Linked DNA regions of Homo sapiens: region 1 is linked to region 2. The links are contacts of gene promoters, found by promoter capture Hi-C in blood cells and fetal thymus (Javierre and others, 2016). All regions are on one chromosome and are shown on one strand. Each heading gives the region's core, a stretch centred on a gene start or on the middle of the fragment in contact. The rest is flanking DNA. Distances are from core to core; before and after follow the strand shown. Region 1 has its middle 220 kb from the start of KCNB2. Region 2 holds the start of TERF1 (telomeric repeat binding factor 1).

Region 1 (2,792 bases), core at 105-2,604, 690 kb before region 2:
CTCTCTCACCTCTTGCTCTGGCAGAAGCCAGCTACCAGGTCATGAAGAGTCCCAAGGAAGAGCCTACATGGCAAGGATCTAAACACTCCAGACAACAACCATGTGCATGACCTTAGAAATGAATCCTTCAGCTCCTGTCCAGCCTTCAGATGTGGATTAGTCCATTCTCACACTGCTATAAAGAATTACCTAAGACTGCGTAATTTTTGAAGAAAAGAGCTCGAGCTGACTCACAATTCTGCAGGCTGTACATTCCATGCATACTCCTGCATGCCTGGGAGCCTTCAGGAAATTTGCAATCATTATGGAAGGGGAAGGGGAAGCAAGCACATTTTACCATGGTGGAGCAGGAGACAGAGAGGGAAGAGGGAAGTGCTACAGCTTTTTAAACAATCTTGTGAGATCTTGTGAGAACTCATTCACTATCATGAGAACAGCAAGGGGGAATTCTGCCCACATGATCCAAGCACTTGCCACCAGGCGCATCATTCAACACTGGGAATTACAATTCAACATGAAATTTGGGTGGGGACATAGAGCCAAACTATGTCAAGATGACTGCAGCCTTGGCCAACATCTTGACTGCAATTTTATGAGAAGCCCTGAGCCAGAACTATCATTAAGCCACTTCTTGATTCTTGATTCTCAGAAACTGGTGAAAGATAATGTTTTTTCATTTTAAGCTCCTACATCTTGGGGTAATTTGCTATACAGGAATAGGTAAATAATGCACTTGTTATATTCACATATATAAATATTAGCTAATCTCCTTTCTTTTCATTACAATTTTATATTATGAGTCCTGTGGTGGTTTACTTAATAATTTGGACTCTTGGGTACAGAATAATCAGATGAGATTGTGCCTGAGCAAGAGATGAATAACATGATTGGTGGATCTTTGTATCTCAGCTTGTTTTTAAGAGGGGGTAAGACCATCTTCACTTGTACAAGGCTTAATTGCATCATACTAGGTGGAAGCATAAAGAGGGTGTTATTGCTGTCTGGAAGCTTAAATGTGGGTAAAGGCAGTGTTTGAATATTGACTAGCCAAATGGTTGGGCTGGGCTGGTTATTTTTCTGTTTGGTCTTAGCTCCCACACATTTCTATTCTTTGATCAATGCTGCTGGGCTTGGGAATTGAAAACTACATTTCCCAGATGCCTTTGCCAGCTGGCTTCCTGTTTGTTCTGCCAATGGGAGGCATTGGAGGAGACCAGAAAATAGAACCTGTGTGGTTCTTGCTCTGACAGTAGTGACAGTTGCCGGCAATGAAGGCAGTGCAAGAAGGGGTGGGCTGCTGTGAGTCCAGCAGCCTAGGAAGTGCACCACCTCTCTGGTGACTCTACTACCTTGGTGACCACTCTTTGATTCCAACGTTGTCAGAAAGAATAGCTTCTCAGCATTTCCAGTGCTGGCAGCTGCAGAGCTACCCACAGCACAAAAATCAAGTGCAACACATAGGTTCCAGTTAGGGGTACTAGCTGCTTTCTGACCTTTTACTCTCATTTCTCTCCCTTTTTAAAAAAATCCCTCTAGCATCCCCTACTTCTCCTTTTTGTTCTTCAGCCTTCCTAATCACTTTATAAGTCATTCACTATATTATATCTCTTCTAGTTTAAATCCTTAAAGTAGTTTACATTTTCCTAACGTAATAAGACTGACAGATTCTCAGGCTTCATGGAGATGCATTTTGGGAAACAACAAGCTTAAATATTCCGCAGAAGTTCCTCTTTATCTCTAAATATTTCAGAAATACATGAAACTATAGTATTTACCTTCATTTTTCTCTAGAAGGCCATGCATATGATCAAAGTTTTTTAACATCTGGAAACTAGTACAGTGCTAACACTTCTAGTAAGAACCAATGCAAAGCAATCCATGATCCAGAAACTAGTAATATGAAACATTTAACTCAGTACTTAAATATTCAACTAAAAGTAAAATGTTCTCATGCTGAGATACGTTTATCTTCAATATAATTATTTGCTTATTTAACTGGAAACTCGTGTCCTTGCGGCATGTTGTGTATTAACATAGTGTTTGTAGACATTTTCAAATTTTGTGGTATTTTTCCTTTTTTTTCTATTCTATGGTTTTTAGTGTGCTTCTAATGTATTAAATAAAGGAAGAAGTTGAGAATGAAAACATTGATGCAGAGATGCTTATTAATTGATAATTGATGAATGCTAATTGCTCCCTATCTGATCTGGCTTCTGGCAATCTCCAACTGCACCCCTACTACTAAGTGGTTCTGCAGCCACCCTGGCCTTCTTGCTAGTCCTCAAGTGCACTAATCTGTTCCCATCTCAGGAACTGTTCCCTCTGCCTGGAATGCTCCTCCCTGTATCTCTGTCTGCCCCACTCCTTCACATCATTACTGTCTTTGCTAAAATATTAACTATAAAGACAGCCTTTTCCTCTCCTCACATCCTGGCTGTCCAGATTGTCAACCCACCTAGTCCCTCTCCATTGGGCCTACTTTGCTTTTCCTCTCAGCACTTGTGTCTCCCTGAAATCATGTCCTGTAAATATATGCTTATTCTTTTACTCTCAGTCTTTCACTGAGTGTAAATTCTGTCAGGCCTAGAAAACTGTCTTTGTTTGCCACCTTATATCGTGTGCCTAGAACAGTGGGGCTTGGCATTTACATAGTCACAGTAAACATTGATTAAATCAATGTTTTGGTTCATACGTTTTCACTATTATGTATGTTTCATATTTTTTACCACTGCCAATTTTGGAGATTTAACATGCACTTTCAGCATTATATGTTTTAAGCAATACAGAGTGTG
Region 2 (2,834 bases), core at 110-2,609:
CAAAGTGCTGGGATTACAGGTGTGAGCCACTGCGCCCGGCTGTTTTAAACTCTTTACATTTACCAAGCCCTTTAATCGTGCAGGTATTATTATTATTCACATTATACGGACAAGAAAACTGACACGTAATTTACCCAAGGTCACACAGCTAGTGAGTAACTGGTAGGGAATATTCCAACCTAAGCATTCTTAATACTAGAATACAGTGCCTTAGTTACTCAACACTTAAACTGTACCACCTTAAAGACAATAACAAGAAGTGTGTGAAAATGTGGAAAGGCTTTGATGATGCTGGATGCGTTATAAACAGAAAGGCTTTTAAAATAAACTTTTTATTCAATTATGACACACATACTGAAAAGTGCATAAACGATGTTCAGTGAATTTTCATAAAGTGAACCCACATCAAGGAACAGAAAACGGAGCCAGGCGTTGTGGCTCAGGCCTGTAAACCCAGCACTTTGGCAGGAGGATAACTTGAAGCCAGGAGTTGGAGACCAGCCTGAGCAACAGAGCGAAATCCTGTCTCAAAGGAAAAAAAAAAAACAAACAAAAAACAAAAACAATAACCAGACCACCCATCCCCATTTAGAATTTCTTTTTGTGCTAAGTTTCAAAATTCAAAATAAGCATTCACTTGTTTTCTACAAACTGCATTCTATAGTCGATCTCAAACCTTGATTGAGATACATTTCCATTATAGTATACTCTTTCTAGAGCACTGATCTCAAAATGTGGTGCCCAGCCAAGTAGCGTTGGACTTTCAAATTCAAGGATCCCAAGCTAGACCAGCAGAACAGGAATTCTGGGAGTGGAGCCCGGCAATTTGTGTTTTAGCAAGCCCCCAGGCTGATTCTGATGCATCTTAAGGTTGGAGAAGCATGGATATTGTCAGTTGTAATAGTTGTTGTTCGTGATCACGTAGTAACTGTTAGATGAAAACTAGGGTTTAAAAGTGTTACGCTTGTCTAATAGTGACAAGTTCTCATTACCCATCTCTTTCTGAAATAGGCTGCAGGCAAATGCGTTTTCATTTTAAATAACCGTGTTGTTGTTCCAGTCAAGGTTGCATTTTACAAGGAATAAGGAAGATAAAGCTGCCTCCTCCTATCCTAATCTCGCTCCTCGCTCAGTATGGAGTCGTCCGGTTTACCTACAAAGCCCTGCCCTAGACTGGCGGCAAATTCAACGCCCAGAGGCAGGAACAGGTGTCGGCCAATCAGAAGCCGGAACAGGTGTCGGCCAATCAGAAGCCAGGCTTGAACCGCTCGCCCATGTCCCGCCGGCGGAAGAGACTCTCCGCGGCCACGCCCCGAGCCCTCGAATGCGAGCCAATCGTTGCTCGGCGCCTGAAGGGGCAGTACCCAAGCGAGCCATTTAACATGGCGGAGGATGTTTCCTCAGCGGCCCCGAGCCCGCGGGGCTGTGCGGATGGTAGGGATGCCGACCCTACTGAGGAGCAGATGGCAGAAACAGAGAGAAACGACGAGGAGCAGTTCGAATGCCAGGAACTGCTCGAGTGCCAGGTGCAGGTGGGGGCCCCCGAGGAGGAGGAGGAGGAGGAGGAGGACGCGGGCCTGGTGGCCGAGGCCGAGGCCGTGGCTGCCGGCTGGATGCTCGATTTCCTCTGCCTCTCTCTTTGCCGAGCTTTCCGCGACGGCCGCTCCGAGGACTTCCGCAGGACCCGCAACAGCGCAGAGGGTGAGTGCAGACCGCGTCCGGGCCGGGACTACGCGGGGGGCGGATGCGGGCTCCGTGGTGCGCGGCAGAGGGCTGGTTCCCTACGTCGCCGAGGGAGGGGCTGCTGCGGCCGATTAGCTGGGAGTCCGAGGCTCCGGGCTGAACTTTGTTCGAATCCCGGTTCGCCCGTTGTCAGCACCTGAGTTTTTCTCAGATTGATTTCCTCTTCGATAAAATGAAAATAAGACCCTGTTTAGGTTTGATGCAAGCATTAAATGAGTTAAAATGTATACAGTTCCACTCAACCCAGTACCTTTGTCTCTTTTGGCGCTTTCTACTCAGGTATTCCTGTAGTAATATTCAGCAGTCCCTGTGGCCTCCAGTAACCCCCGAGGCATCAGTGTTTTATGTTAATTTGTGAGCTATTAAATCTCATTTGGCCTGCTGGCTCTACAGCAGTTACTTTTATTCTGTGTAGTCTCAGAATAAAAGTAAATGTTGGCCACATGCCTGCAAGTCCCAGCTACTTGGGAGCCTGAGGTGGGAGGATCGCTTGAACCCAAGAGGCAGAGGTTGCAGTGAGTCGAGATCGTGCCACTACAGTCCTGCCTGGGTAACAGAGTGATACCCTGTATGAATAAATAAATGAATGAATGAAACTGTTCATGAAATCTGCTGCACCCCGCCCCCGTCCCAAGATGGGGTCTCACTGTCACCCAGGCTGGAGAGTGTAGTGGCGCCATCACAGCTCACTGCAGGCTCGACCTCCTCAGGCTCAGGTATCCTCCCGCTTCAGCTTCTGGAGTAGCTGGGTCTGCAGGCGTGCACCACCACCCGCAGCTGTAAGATTACAGGTATGAGCCACCGCGCCTGGCCTAGTGTAGCTTTTTGAAAAACAACAGAAAGATGTTCTGGTACTTCATTCATAGTTGGCGCTAAAATTACTGTGCAAGTATATATTTATAATACTATAATTATGCTATTTAATAGAATTCTTAGACATTTTGACACATTTCATCTTCACCATAATCCTGTGAGTTAGGCAAATAATCTTAGTTTTAAGGTACTGATAGGTTAAAAGGGAGTGTTTCAGCCCCATCCTTTATCTTCCAGTTCAAGGATCTTTCCTCTGTATTGCGGTTAACACTGGAGCC

Evidence for each region. Contacts are between HindIII fragments. The CHiCAGO score rates a contact against its expected background, and 5 or more counts as called.
Region 1: a fragment that was not itself captured here is called in contact with the fragment with the promoter of TERF1 in region 2 in 1 of 17 cell types (endothelial precursors); the score reaches 7.2 in endothelial precursors.

What each region holds. Positions count from the first base shown.
Region 1 is chr8:72,315,503-72,318,294 of GRCh38, forward strand. No RefSeq gene overlaps it. Among named protein-coding and RNA genes, the nearest start is that of KCNB2, 220 kb to the right of the region's middle. RefSeq lists an enhancer at 1,289-1,338. The HindIII fragment of the contact is 697 bases long and covers 1,007-1,703 here.
Region 2 is chr8:73,007,505-73,010,338 of GRCh38, forward strand. It overlaps TERF1 (telomeric repeat binding factor 1), which reads left to right and starts at 1,360. Exons shown (of 10, transcript NM_017489.3): 1 at 1,360-1,701. The coding sequence starts at 1,383. RefSeq lists silencers at 1,126-1,225, 1,256-1,305. The HindIII fragment of the contact is 9,695 bases long and covers 1-2,834 here.